Linked DNA regions of Homo sapiens: region 1 is linked to region 2. The links are contacts of gene promoters, found by promoter capture Hi-C in blood cells and fetal thymus (Javierre and others, 2016). All regions are on one chromosome and are shown on one strand. The core of a region is centred on a gene start or on the middle of the fragment in contact, and the rest is flanking DNA. Distances in the headings are between cores, read along the strand shown.

Region 1 (7,407 bases), core at 3,293-5,792, 3.4 Mb before region 2:
TTCTGAATTTGTGTATATTTAAAACTACATAAAAACGTACCTTCTTAAAGGTATAATTCCCAAATTTTAACATCAACATATCAGCTTTAGCTATCAGCCTACCTATTCATTTGTATTTTTCCTTCCATCTCTAATTAATTGAAGATTATACTGTGATTGCAAGGCAAGCCATTAAAAAAAAACTGCTAATATTGGTTATTTATCTACATGAAGAACGTTAAGATGTTCTCTGTGTCATGTACTCAAAATTAAATAAAGAAATTAGAGGTTGTGGTAGGTAAGTGAATTGCGAATGTCATGCACCTCTGACCTCACGTTTTTAGTTCATCACAGCTGCTTCATTGTTCTCATTAACTTTGAAAGTAAATATTAAAATTGCAACTCAAAATAAATCTGTACTGTTTTACATATCTGAACACAGTATATTAATATTTCATATAAGACTTTTTAGAGTTTTTCTAGTATTTTGGAAAACCAGTGAAATAGTGGATTGGCTACTGGTTCTGTGCTAATAGTGTTTATAAGTGGAATGGGACTTTTTTTAATATGAAGTCACCCAAGGAATTTGCTTTTTCTGGAGGCACGTTATTTCATGAAGTCCAGTGTGTTATCACTAGACTAAAGTCTTTTCTGTTTGGGAAGTCTGTCGGTGGGGACAGGGGTCATAATAACCTTTGCTAGTTGTTCTTTGATTTTTGGTAATGGCTTGATCTAATCAAATATCAGAGATTATCTTAGTTCTACCTGCTCAGCAAAAACCAGGAAAAAGAGTTAACATATTTGAGGGGTTTTTTTTGTTTTTTGTTTGTTTGAGACGGCGTCTCACTCTGTCACCTAGGCTGGAGTACAGTGGCGCAATCTCGGCTCACTGCAACCTCCTCCTCCCAGGTTCAAGCGATTCTTCTGCCTCAGTCTCCCAAGTAGCTGGGACTACAGGAACACGCCACCACACCTGGCTAATTTTTTTTTGTATTTTTATTAGAGTTGGGGTTTCACCATATTGGCCAGGCTGGTCTTGAACTCCTGACTCAGGTGATCCACCCTCCTCAGGCTCCCAAAGTGTTGGGATTACAGGCGTGAGCCACCATGCCTGGCTATATTTGAGGTTTAAACTGAAAAGTATCAGACAGCAAAAAGGAATAGTTTAAGTTGGGCTTGACTGTTACCCTAATATGCACTAAGTTTCAAAAATACATTCTTTAATTTGCATACCACCCTACTCCAGAAGTAATGTAGAAATAGTCTCAACATCTGGTGATAGCATTAAGGTTTATGTAAGACAGTCTGCAGCCTGCCTCTTATAAAAAGAAGGGGGTAGGCCAGGCACGGTGGCTCACGCCTGTAATCCCAGCACTTTAGGAGGGCAAGGCAGGTGGATCACGAGATCAGGCGTTCAAGACCAGCCTGACCAACATGGTGAAACCCCGTCTCTACTAAAAATACAAAAAATTAGCTGGGCATGATGGTGGGCGCTTGTAATCCCCAGCTACTTGGGAGGCTGAGGCAGGAGAACTGCTCGAACCCGGGAGGCGGAGGTTACAGTCAGCCAAAGATCGCGCCATTGCACTTCAGCCTGGGTGACAGAGCAAGACTCACACACACACACACACACACACACACACACAAAAGGAGTGAAAAGGATTGAAAGCAACAAAATAGTATGTAGTCATCTTCTCAAAGGAACCAAAGTAATGGGCTGATTATCTTCAGCTTCCTGAAGAAGCTGAATGTTTGTATGTAGGAAGTCCCATGTGTTATCTTGGCAGGAAGTAGAAAATATGAGTAATTTGGGGACGCAGAATCTTTCGTCACTTCCCTCCATCGCGTCTCATGTCCAGGATCTTCCCAGGAGTCGTAGGAAATGTAGCATCCATGCAGTTAGTCGTTTACCTCCTAGGAAACCTTTGTGCTCTTAGGAGACAGTGGCTTCCCATTGTGGTTAAGTGTAACCCTGTTTGGCTGACCCCTGGATAGAGCTTCATACCCTCAGCACTGCATAGTCACCTTTGACTTGTGGTTAGAAAGATCAGCCATATAGTCCATCATGATGATATGTTATGATGGTTTATACAAGAAACTGGGACTTTTTATCTCAGCCAAAACGCTACTCTTGCTTTAGGATTAGGTGACTTTAACAGGGTTAATAGAGGAATGTCTTTTCAACTCTTATTTCTCTATTATGTAAAGCTGTCCTTGAATAGTCAGCTGTTCTTTCCAGCTGCCACAAATAATTTGTTCTTTGAAAAGCTTAGTGACTTAGTGGGGTCTTTCAGAATAAGGAATTTGTTATGTTCAGGTTTTGGGGTCTTGCCAGTGGTTCTGTTTTGCTTGCTTTAAACAGATGTAAAATGATACTGAGATTATTGCTGATTTATTTTCTGTTGTGCTAGCAGCATTTCAGTACTTTTGTGGTAGGTTGTTTCTTTTACATAAAAAATAAACAAGTAAACCAGCTGCAATCTAAGTAGGAAACATAAGAATTTAGAATGTGTGTGATGGTTAGATTTTACTTCTGATTTCATCAGAAAAGTTGCCCTCTAGACAGTTTTCTGGCATTTATAGTTCATTGCTTATATGAGAGAATAAAATACATATAGTTGATTAAAGGAAGGAAGTTTATTACTTAGGGAAAAGGAAGGTAAAAAAAGACCCTAAGCAATAAAGGCAATTCTTTTTTAAGCAGAATACTTTCATTTTATTTCATTTTTGTTTACCAGTGTTGTTACGAAAACTGCTGCTGGGGCTACTTCAGCTGAGATGATTTGGCTCTTTTTTGTGGCTTTCTTCTTGTTCTGTACATCAGCACTGTGGTTATTACACCAGCTACCAAGAACATCTCACATGCCTTTTGCATATAAGCACTCTTAGTCCAGATAGGGCGATGTCTCAAATCCCCCAAAGATTTTATTTATTGGCCAGGTGCCGTGGCTCACGCCTGTGATCCCAGCACTTTGGAAGGCTGAGGCGGGTGGATCACCTGAGGTTAGGAGTTTGAGACCAGCCTGGCCAACATGGCGAAATACCATCTCCACTAAAAATACAAAAAATTAGTCAGGCGTAGTGGCATGGACCGGTAATCCCAGCTACTCAGGAGGCTGAGACAGCAGAATCACCTGAACCCAGGAGGCAGAGGTTGCAGTGAGCCAAGATCGTACCACTGCACTCCAGCTTGGGTGACAGAGCAAGACTCCATCTCAAAAAAAAAAAATATATATATATATATATACACACACATATATTTAATAATTTTTTTTTGAGAGACAGGGTCTCTGTTAAAGATTTTAAACAAGAAGTTTAAAGTTGCAGAAAGAATTTTGTAGCATGCATTTCTAAATTTGCTCATATTTAACTGTTTTTTGTTTTATTTTCATTTTCTTGGTTAGAGTTGAAATGATAGGAGAAAGTTGTGCATTTCTATCCTTAAAGGTAATTCCTCAACTTGTGTCCTGGAGAAGAATCAGGTCATTTTTCCCAGTTAGATTTTGCTGCTCACATCTGTAGGCAGAACAGTCAGAAGTCTTCAGCCTATTCCCAAGTGATGATCAATGAACTGAAGTACTGGAAGACCTTTTTTGTCAGAGCCTTGGCTGCATATGACTCAGCTCCCAAAGGTGGCTCGTTTCTGTGTAGGCAGTCCTTTGATATTCTGTCATTTCATTTCAGTTTGGCATGGCCACTCCTCTTATCATTGTATAAAGTTGATTTTCTTAAGTTAGCCTCGCTAATGGTTTGTTTTATTTTTCTTCCGAAAGATAAAAAACACATAGTATATAACCATTCGCCAAAGATCTGTGGTGGTTGGTGGCATGGGTTAAAAAAAAGATACAGCAATAGATAGATGATAGTTTCCAGTCATGTGGGTTTAACTTCATTTTCTTTGGTTTGATGCCTCCTTGTAGCAAAGAAAGAAGTTGAAGGCTGGACTGTTTGTTTTAGGTACAGAGGAATCCGATTAGGGATCAGCTCTGTTCCCATAAACCACTGTGCTGAGACCTTTTTGAAGAATTTTAAAAAATGAAAGCATATTGCCTACTGCTATTAGGAAATCTATCAAATAAATAAATAAAAGGCCAGATAATTATTTTCTGATCTTCATAACAACATGGTATGGTTTGTGGCAGAGAGCTTAAAAATGTATTAGATTTGTCTTCAATTCTTGTGTTCTTGGTAATTTTCTGTTTTCCCAAACAGAGAGTAAGATTTTAGTCTCATGACTTTGGCTGATGTCAGTGGGGCTGAAGTTTCTAAATCACCCACGCACAGCTCTAAAACTGTCACTGTGAATTGAGTCCAGGACAACTTGGAAACAAGTTGAGTGTTTTTCAAGTAGGTACTTCAGCATGTTAAGGAGATGTCCATGCAAACTATCACTAAGAGAAAACTCATGACCATAATATAGAGCGTGTTAAACTTCCAGCTGGGTTGTGGGTTTGGGGACATGTTTCAATTAATTAAAAGTGAATTTATGTGAAAAGTTCTTTACTAGAAGCACATTTTAAATGATTTTTTTCTGCTTCTATGTTCATCTCAGACACTCAAACACTGGCCTGAGAGTTTGAATATTGCTGAAACCTTTTTACGTGATAGTGCCACTCCCTTAAAAATCATCATTGCTTAAATCTCTGTAGGGTGTTGGAACTGGTTGGGAAGAAAGGAACAGAAAGAACAGAACTTGGAAACAAATTCTGCCCATAGTGTTCTTGGTCACTTTTGCAGATCAGAATTAGTAGCTGGTTCTCCAGCAAATCTGCCACCTCCTGTGTTGCCCTTAGGTGCCTAAAATATTATAGATTTTCAATAAAACAAAAGAAAAAAAATATACTTTTTTAACTGGATTATAAGACAATAAAATCTTATCTTTAAGTTATCACAAGATGCGATAAATGGATTATGCAAAAGGATATGGAAATGTTTATAAGCAAATCCAAGGAACTTTGAACGACATTAGAGTGTGATGATTTTTTAAAAATTAAAAATTTTTTTTAATTTTGAAAAATGTTAATACAAAGTATTATACATAGGTAATTTATCACATATGTGTCCATGATTCAGAATGAACACATAGTAACATTCTGTCAGACGGCTTCAGATTGTTTCACTTTTTAAGAAACCATTATGGTTAAGTTCAGATTCCCCTTTGTTTCCCTGCCCCATGCATCTTCCTTCCTCCCCAAGGACAAGGACTGTCATGAATTCAGTGCATTCGTAGTCTGTGTTTTATAATTTATTTTCATACATAAACAACATATAATTTGTTTTTGTTTTTAACCTACATAAATACTACCATACAGTACCTCTTTTTGTAATTTGCTTTATTCTCTTCAGCATTATATATTGAGGATTCAGCACGCTGAAAAACATAGATCTACTAATCATTGACTTTGCCTTTTCATAGTCTTTTTATACTTTTTCTGTAGAAGGGAAAGAGAAATGGACTTAAAGATGATGTATTTGAAAGACTTTAGCTGAGTGGGGATTTGTGAAGAGAAAGGGTTTGAGTGGGGTGGGCTTTCAAGTCTGTGCATGGGAAGGATATGATGGATCAACTAATGGGAGAGGAAGAAACCAGAAAGGAGCATGCCAGCTGCAAGTCCTGGGCATCTCTGTGGCAGAGGAGGGGAGGTGCACCATACACCCTGAGTAAGAATAGTGCTCGTGAGGATGGGCAGAAACATGTTTTGGCTTACTAGAAAATAAATAAAGCCGTTTGCCTCGACCACTTTGTTATGCTTCTTGCTGTGGGTCCAGCAGCCTGAAACTCACTTACCCATCTGATAGAATCACAGCAGAGGGAACCTGGGGGAAAATGTGATTCCTCCTTTTTAATTTTATAGATGAGGAAACGGAGGCCTGTCAAGAAGGGACTAGGGTCATACTAGTACATACATACATGCAGAGCCAGGACCTACGTCAAATTTAGTTTGACAGCTGTTTGTCCTTTTGTGTTACTAAATTGATGTTTGACATACTGTAATCAAGGCTGTGTCAGCGCATTCATCTAATTTTAGTTTAAATAGGCATAGTAGGGCCGAGAGAGGAGCATTTGAATAGGATGCATGAGCTAGGCACTATGCTGGAGAGTCTTAATTTGAAGATTCAGCAGTGGGTGAATGGTCCCTGCCCCAGAGAGGGGATAGAGAAAAACCTAAGAGAGTCTCAATACACTGTGCCAGTGGTATTAAGGAGGAGACCTGTGAACCAAGTGGGTGTTAAAGGAAGTGTTACAAAAGGCATGGAATAGGCCTTTGAGGTCTGGGATTCTAGCAGTCTCCTTTCTGGTTTCCTTCCCTCCCCATCATCACTCCAGTCCCCCACAAATCCATGTGTCTGGGCTAAAAGAGATGTTGGCCCAAAAGAGATGTTGGCCCTTAACTGGTGAGTTGATGTAGACAGGACCTGTGATGCTTCCTGAATCAGTCTGTGAGGCATTGCCTAGTGAATGGTATCTGTGGTTGATTTCCTGAGTGAGCCCTTCCCATGAGAGTGTCTCCTCGAGTGTCCCCACAGGCCGATCTTTCATTTGTTTCTGCTTTACCTCTGGCTTCCTGGAACAGTTCTGTTATGTGACTTTATAGCAGCGCTGAGAGCTGATGGTAAGCCTTCTGAGACACAGAGGCTTGGGTTTTTACGTCAGTGGCCCTTGTAGGCCAAGGGAGTGAAAAGTAAAGGAATTGAGATAAAATGCTGTCCTTGCCAAATTGTGGTTTCTGCTTTATCTTTCAAGAAGTCTCCATTTTCTCTTAAGTCACAGTTCCCAGAGGTGCATGTGGGGGTTCCAGTGACCTTTCATGTGTGGTTCCTGTCTCAGAGAATGGGGTGCAAAAAGCCCAGCGTAGTTAAGCTTTTCAGATTTTATATTCTGTGCTTTATTACAGTCATACAAATTTTGTAACCCCTGTTAGGGGCTTTATTAATGTATTTATTTGTAATTTAGACTTACACATTGATGGCAGACACTTTCACTTTTAGTTTTGGTAGCCTCTCAGCTTCCTGTCTGAAAAGTTCCAGACTTACTAGTTTTTGTTGATTAGAAATCACATCTGTTGCTTCCTAAGGGCCAGGAAACTCACCCTTCCCATCAGATCACTTGAGTCGTTGTTCCTCTCATTAAGCTGTAATCTGTCTCCTGGTCTCCAAATAAAGACACAAACACCGAAAAAAAAAAAATCACATCTGCTCGTGTTTTTCCTCCTCCAAATAACATCACAGACCTGCTTCCTAGAAGAGGACTGCAGTGTGTAATTTCAGTCACATTCTCACATGTGAGTGACTTCACTTTGAAATTCAGAGGCCACTTGTGGCAGCAGTGGAAACTCAGAATCTGGGATCTGTTTGCTTTGTCCATGTGACCTTGGGTTTGCTTTCTTTTCAGATTGCAGTGCTTTTGTCCACAAAGGCTGCCGAGAA
Region 2 (7,204 bases), core at 762-3,261:
CACTCTGTGGCCCAGGCTGGAGTGCAGTGGTGCGATCACAGCTCACTGCAGCCTCAACTTCCTGGGCTCAAACAACCCTCCTGCCTCAGCCTCCCCACTAGCTGGGACTACAGGCATGCACCACCACATCAGGCTAAATTTTAAATTTTTTGTAGAGACGGGGTCTCACTATGTTGCCCAGGTTGGTCTCAGACTCCTGGGCTCCGCCTCAGCTTCCCAAAATGTTGGATTACAGGCGTGAGCCACTGTACCGGTCCATGTTTTGATACATGTATACATTGTGGGATAGCTACACCAAGCTAGTTAACATATGCATTACCTTATATACTTATCTAGTGATAATCTAAAGCTCTTTTTTGGAAGTCCAAACTGTTTTAACTCAGAGTCAGGACGATGGGGTTCATCACTAAGAGACTTTGCTACTGAAGCCTGGGTTTTTCTTTTCCAAGATGAAAGAGAATACAGAGGAATATATAAACACTGAGATGAAACCTTTTTTTTTCAAGGTAACATGACAACTGAATGAAAAATAGAGCAATGGCAAAGGATTCTTTCTTCTCCTTCACTCTGATGTACCATGGCTGTGAGTTCTTTCAAAGACAGACACAAAGGGTCTGGGGCTACATTCAGGCCTGAGAAGCTATTTCTGTCCACACTCTGTGATGTCTACACCTTCAGAATGGGGAATGGGTTTCAGGGGTCTCTGACAGATAGAGCTCATGCAATGATTTCTGGTCCGGTGCTGATCAGCCTTCAAAGGATGTTATTTGGTTACGCTCCATAAAACTTGAGCCAGCCCACTGTTCCTTGTCACAACCTGAAATATGTTGGGAAAAATTTACATGGTAACAAATGCCACTTCCCTTCTCTGACTAAATCGCTCCTCTCATTTCATCCCCTGCTCCCTCTCTCCGAGCCCTATGGGGCCTTGGTAGGGTGGCCTTGTCTGCCCTACAGGGGTTGCATTTCAAGTCGCTCAAGTGTTCTATTCTTGGTACACGACATGCCATTGCAAAAGCAGTTTCAGGCTCATAGAATTTTAGAAATGGGCCTAGTTTCCCAGCCGGATGAGGTGAGTGGGTGATGGGGGAAGAATCAGCCTTGATTGAATGCCTGTTGAGTGCCAGCCACTGTTGGCATTTATCAGAGTTTATTTAATCTTCTCATCAACTACTATTGTTACCCTCAGTTGCCAAGTGAAGGGAGCATGCGGGAAGGTTAAGTGACTTGCCCAAGCCCACACAACCGGTAGGAGCCCCAATTCCAGGCCCTAGTTCCAAGGCTACATTCTTCCAGGCGGCCTCCAACTGGGTTGGTTAAGGGTTGAAAGGACAGTGGGACAATAACTGAGGCCCGTATTGCCCAGAGCGTCCCCATCCCCCGTCCGGAGCTGGAAGAGGCCATAGACCGCTGCCTCCACATCTTTTCCTCTCCTTCGGGTTCGGTGACTCACGACCCTTCTTCCTCTCTCCCGGGATATGACCTCAAATTTCACCCCTGCGAAATTTGAGTACACGTGAGTCAGTCAGTCGGCCTGGACCCATAAGAGCCCCAGCTGAGCTACCAGCAGCTGAGCTACCAGCCGACCTCATTCCTCTGAGCCCAGTCGACAGCTGACCTTACCCAGCCCTCTAAAGCAGTTTGCGGTCACAATTACCCGTCTCTTCACCCCGCCCCCATCGACATCAAACACGACCCACCTTCTAGCCCTCCTCCCCTTTCCCCGCCCACTCCGGGCTGGCCTTATCCAGTAGCGTCTGGGTCCCTGGACTAAAGCCGTCAAATGTAACCAATTGCTGAGGAGCTCTCCCCTAAGAATCCCGCCTCCACTCTGAGGAACAGCTTCGCTGATCAATGGATCCCCTCCTAGACGCAATGAGCGCGCGGGGCAAGTGGAGAAGCGGCTGAACTGCCCAATGAACAAGCGGTTTCCGTGGTTAGGGGCGTGGCAGAAGCGGTCGTCAGGGGCGTGGCGGCAGTTACTTGGGCGGGGCCGGTAGCGGCGGGAGCTGCACTGGCCAGGGGTTCCGGCTGTATATCCATGAGCGCCGCTGGCAGCCGGGGAGCTGCAGGAACCAGACTGGGGGCGAGCTGAGCACCTGTAGTCAATCACACGCAGGTAAAGCCACGGCCGAGCGAGCTCCGCGGAGCGGGGATCGCACCCCGGACCCGTCGAACCGAATCTCCGAGCCCCGAGGTCCCCGGCGTAGCTCGGCCCATCACGCCGCAGCCTGAGGGGATCCTGGGGGGCCTGTCATCTGGCGCCGTGGGGGTCCCAGGGGCTGGCTTGCCCAGTGGTGGGGACAGCCCAGATCGCGGCGGGGGATACGCCTTCCTGAGGCCCTTTGTCCCCTTCTGCCCGAGGAACCGAGGTTGGGGACAACCCCGACCGCGGCCTTTCCCCCATTGGTGCTCACTCCTGGGTCTTCAGGGGCCTGGGGAGGGGTCTGCCGGTTCAGGCTCGGCGAAGAAGGTCCGGGATCCGCACCTGGAAGGAGAGGGCCGAGGGGCCTGATTACAGCCCGAGATACCCGAGAGGCCTCTGTGTTTCGGGGCTCCAGGGGCTCACGCAGGACCAGTGGGTTTAAGTTCTAGAAAGGCAGCTTTTGACCCACTTGGAAGCACATTTACCGAGTTCGGCCCCGCGACCGGCACTGTTCTAGGCCCTTCGTGAGCTTTTCCCACAGCTAGAGCTGTCCAGCAGCGCAGGAGGCTGCCTGCCAGGCCGGGCAGCTAGCGCCTCGACCTTGGCGATGTCCAAGCAGTGGCCTGATGACAGCCACCTGTGTCGGATGCTTAGGACTCCCAAGGGAGGACTGCATGACCCATCTGTAAGGGCCTTCTCTACCCACAAATGCACTCTAAGTGGCCTTTGATGCCTAGCTTGAGAAGAGTACTTCTGGGGGTCCATTAGGTTCCAAGTGGCTGTTGAATTCACCCATAATGAATTTTGAGGTTTCAGCTCTCAAGAGTGGGTGTTAGCAAAGAGACTGGATTATACAAAAAGATAGAGGTTTATTTAGCCACTGTGAAACTCCTTGTATTTGAACTACCATGGACCGCTCTCTTAATCTTCCCAATCTCTCTTTTTTGGTTGCTGGACCTCCAGTTTGTCAGTTTCACCTGCATTCCAGTAACCAAATCCAAAGGCATGTTCCAAGAACAGGCTCCACAGAGGGACCTGGAGAGACTGCAGGTTTGGCAGAGTCAACAAGATCTGTGCCCAGAGCTTTTCGAAGGCCGTTTCCTTACAGCCACATTAAGCAGAGTCCAAAAGAGAAATCCTTCACTACCCTCTGTCATTTGCCGGAATAGAGAGAACATAATAATCTAAAGGTCAGGAGGCAGAGAAAGAATCTTAACACACCTTGCTGTGTGTTTTAGGATGAATTAATCTTTGAACATCTAGTCAGAAAGCAGTCCATATACAGCTGGTAGTCAGCACGGACTGTGACATTTTAGAGCTGAAGGCACCTTAGATAGAGCTCATCTCTATCTAAGTCTAATTAGGTGGACTCTCATTCAGTCTCCTCAATGCACAGGTGAGGAAACTGAGGCCTGGGGTGGTCACAGGGCTGGTTGGTCATCACAGGCCCATGACTAAGGGTTGATCTCTTGACTGTATTTAGATCTAGCCAGTGCATGACTTATTTCACTCCAAGCTTAGTTTGCCCATTCTCAGTGTTTTAAGTTCTAGGGGAGTCCAGAGAGGTTAGGAGGACAGATTTTGGTGCCTGAGTGCCTGGATTTGAATCCCAGCCCTGCCTCTTACTGGCTGTACAACCTTGGGCAAGCTACTTAACTTCTCTGTGCCTCTGTTTCCTCACCTCTAAAACAGAAATAATAATGATACTTATGTTAGAAGATTGTTTTGAGAAGTGCATGGAGTTACTACATCTGAAGCATTTAGAACAGTACCTGGCACAGGGTAAGCACAATAGATTTGCTAGATATGATATTCTGTTGCCTTTTTGTACATTTTTCTTCATATCCACCACCCAATACTCTATCAAGAGCTAATTTTTCCCCCAGTCCCCTTCCCCCCACCCCCAAATTCATTTAACATATTCCAGATTTCATTTTAACACAGACAGCTGCAAGGGGTTTCCAAGTCACGTTGCATTTTATACCTTACTTATTTTTGTGATTCAGGTAATTTAGTTTCTATGTTAGTTCCCCCTTGCAGTTACATTCTTCTTAGGCTCTGAACCCTTTAAAATTATCGTTAAAAGCAGGCAGTGAGGGGTGGGAATCCCTCGAAATGGTAAAGTCCTGGATGATACCCGTGTCCATGGTGTCCTTCCAAATATGTATTCCCTCTCTTCAGCCCTCCTCCCAAGCGATGAGTGTGATGCAGCTTGATTCTAAATGGATGAACATTTTTAGATTAAGATTTTATGAGCCACTGTATTAAGTGCTTTTCGGAAGTTCAGGGATCATGTGTCAACTGCATTTAAGGAAGTTACTTAGTCATTCGAATAGGGGGAGCACCAGCAGCGCCTGCCTGGCCTGGCAGAAGCAAAAGTGTGTGACTGATCCGTGCTGGCAATCTAGCTGGTTCACTGGTTTATCTGTGTTTTTCCTGTTCTTTTCCAAAGCTTGAAATAAACCAGATGGCAAGTACAAGGGAATGGTCTTTTTCCTCTCATTTTAGTCAGGGTCGTTCACTTTTTTCCCTTTTTACTCTCACCTTCATTTCCTTTATCGCCTGCGTGGGTCTGACAAATAGGCACTCTCAGTGTGCCAGCCAATTCCCTTTTGATGAAAAGATGCCTGCCACTTTCATTTTTTGCAGGAATCCAGTCACCTTTGATTTTCTCTTCTGTTTTTACTTGTTTTCTAGATTGAACCAAAGATTATCACTTCATTAAATGGCACCTTCTCATGCTTTATTTTTCTTGAGTTGATTCTGAATTTCGGTTTTTGTTTAAGCTGTTCTAGAGATCAGCCATTTTAGAATAATAGTTTTCATTTCTTTGCTTGTGTATTAATATGGGCCCCTTTCTCTCTTTCTCACTCTCTTTTCTCAGTATTTTGGTGGATGAGCTTCTCATTTGCTGTTACTCGTTGCTTTAAGCATTTACGCCTTTTCCTGGTAATCTCCGGCAGGACCCATAACCTCTGTAGTGGTTCTCACTGCCCTTGTTCAGAGCTCCTGCCCCGAGCAGGAAATAATTTCTTTGGTCTTATGGGAGACAGGGGTAGAGTCTGTCTTATTTTTTGCCTAAAATCTGGCTCTTTTAAAAGCCCCAGGAGAGAGACATTTCCAATATAATTGAATTTTGTGTGGCAGAATTTCTACCATGACCTACAGCTTACAGTATTCCCATTTTTATTGCATTGTGAGTTTTGAGTACTCCATGACCAGTTTCAGAGTATAGATGATGTGGGGCATGAGTTGCTTTAGCCTTTCTGTTTCATCTTGGGCTAAGCTATCCCCAGGAACAGAGCAATGAGAAGTTCAGGGTGCCTCTTAAATGTGTCTGGTGTCAGGATTTTATAGCAGCTTTTCATGGTTCAGCCTTTTTGGCCAGTGCATGAGTAGGACATTTTTAAGCCCTGTGCTGCTGTTTCTTTGTTGATACCATACAGATGCTACATTATCTCCTTTCAGGATTTTCATATCTGCAGATTGATTTTTGTTGTCTTGTCCAGGGCATCATATTTTTGGATTGAATGTTTTCTGTTTGTAAAATGGTTGGTGTGGACAGACGATAAGCTCCACCATTACCCCTGAAGCTTGTGGACTGGGGCCATTTGGGTGAGGGGCTTGTTACACACCGACTCATTGTCTGATCTTTCACAATAAATAGCAGACAGGTGAAGAGCTTTTTAGAGAAGTGGAACGTTGGTACCCTTGGATTTGCCTGGTTTCTGATTTTCTTTTGTTGTCTTTAAGTGGAGGTTCATTAAGTTCAACAAATTAAGCATCTGGTGTGTGCCAGGAACACAGTTGACAAGATTAACAAATTAGTTTGGTTTGTTGCTTAAAAACTATTTTGTTTTAAAATTGTTTTTAATAGAAATTTTAAAATTTTTTAATTCAAATTTTAGTTTTTAAAAATAGGCAATACATTCACATGATGAAAGAAAATTTTTTAAAGGCACAAAAGGTTAACTAGTAAATACATCTGTGTGTACCCCTGACCCCTGATCCTCAGAGGCAACCAGTATTAGCGATTTCTTCATCCTCCAGAAGTGGTCCCTGAACTTCCAAGGGATTTTATACATCTGTAAGCAAATTCGTTAAACATATTCTGTACACCACCCCTTTTTGCAGAAATGGTAGCACACTGCATACATGCTATTTGGAACCTTGCCTTTTTCACTTAATATTTCTTGGCAGTGTGAAAAGAGCTTCCACGTCATTTTTTATGAAGGCCGTCTATTTTAGATATCTGTTTTCTGTTTCTAAGGATGCTAAAAAACAGTCTTATTTAGGCAGCAGCTTTGCTGGAGATCTTAAAGATCTTGTGAATATTTGGAGGCAAATATTTTTCTTTTCTGTGAGAGCCCGGGGGAGGTGCAGGGGAGCTTCTAAAGGTCAGCTGAGAAGGGAGAGCTGGGGCACTGGAGAGTGAGGAACGCATTGGTCCTTGGGCCCTTCTTCGCCTTGCCGTCTGTGCAGAATGTGCTAGCATTTCCAGGGAAAGTTTGCCGTTTGCTCTCTGTTCTCCAGAGAAGCTTCCTGGCCTCCCCAAGTCACATTTCCAGCATCTTTTTTCATTCTTTTTTTTTTTTTTTTTTTTTTTTGAGACAGAGTCTCACTTTTGTCTCCCAGGCTGGAGTGCAGTGGCGCAATCTTGGCTCGCTGCAACCTCTGCTTCGCGGGTTCAAACGATTTTCCTGCCTCAGCCTCTCAAGTAGCTGGGATTACAGGCACACGCCACCACCCCCAGCTAATTTTGTATTTTTGGTAGAGACAGGGTTTCACTATGCTGGTCTCAAACTCCTGACCTCAGGTGATCCTCTTGCCTCAGCCTCCCAAAGTGCTGGGATTACAGACGTGAGCCACCGTGCCTGGCCTCATTTCCAGCATCTCTGTTGCATTTCATCCCGTCTCCTGCACCACAGCATCACTCCATTTGTCCTGCCTTTGGGCGTCCAAGAGGAAGCCTGCCCTTTGTCACAGCACTTTCTGTTTGGGTAGCTTTAAGTGTCTCACCCCTTCTTTTCTCTCACCCCAGGAAAAACCAGCTCTCAC

The links. The method cuts DNA at HindIII sites, captures the fragments that hold promoters and counts their contacts. A CHiCAGO score of 5 or more calls a contact.
Region 1: a contact is called between a fragment that was not itself captured here and the fragment with the promoter of ABHD2 in region 2, in 1 of 17 cell types (M0 macrophages). The highest score is 5.9, in M0 macrophages.

The regions. Positions count from the first base shown.
Region 1 is chr15:85,700,647-85,708,053 of GRCh38, forward strand. It overlaps AKAP13 (A-kinase anchoring protein 13), which reads left to right. Exons shown (of 37, transcript NM_007200.5): 18 at 7,373-7,407. Among named protein-coding and RNA genes, the nearest start is that of LINC02883, 54 kb to the right of the region's middle. RefSeq lists a silencer at 4,206-4,335 and an enhancer at 6,702-7,011. The HindIII fragment of the contact is 4,594 bases long and covers 2,246-6,839 here.
Region 2 is chr15:89,086,445-89,093,648 of GRCh38, forward strand. It overlaps ABHD2 (abhydrolase domain containing 2, acylglycerol lipase), which reads left to right and starts at 2,012. Exons shown (of 11, transcript NM_152924.5): 1 at 2,012-2,119. It overlaps LOC124903573, which reads right to left. Exons shown (of 7, transcript XM_047433432.1): 3 at 5,732-5,797; 4 at 4,691-4,839; 5 at 2,391-2,488; 6 at 1,624-2,242; 7 at 1,117-1,497. The coding sequence ends at 1,283. RefSeq lists enhancers at 775-1,420, 2,031-2,210, 2,152-2,671. The HindIII fragment of the contact is 11,698 bases long and covers 1-3,660 here.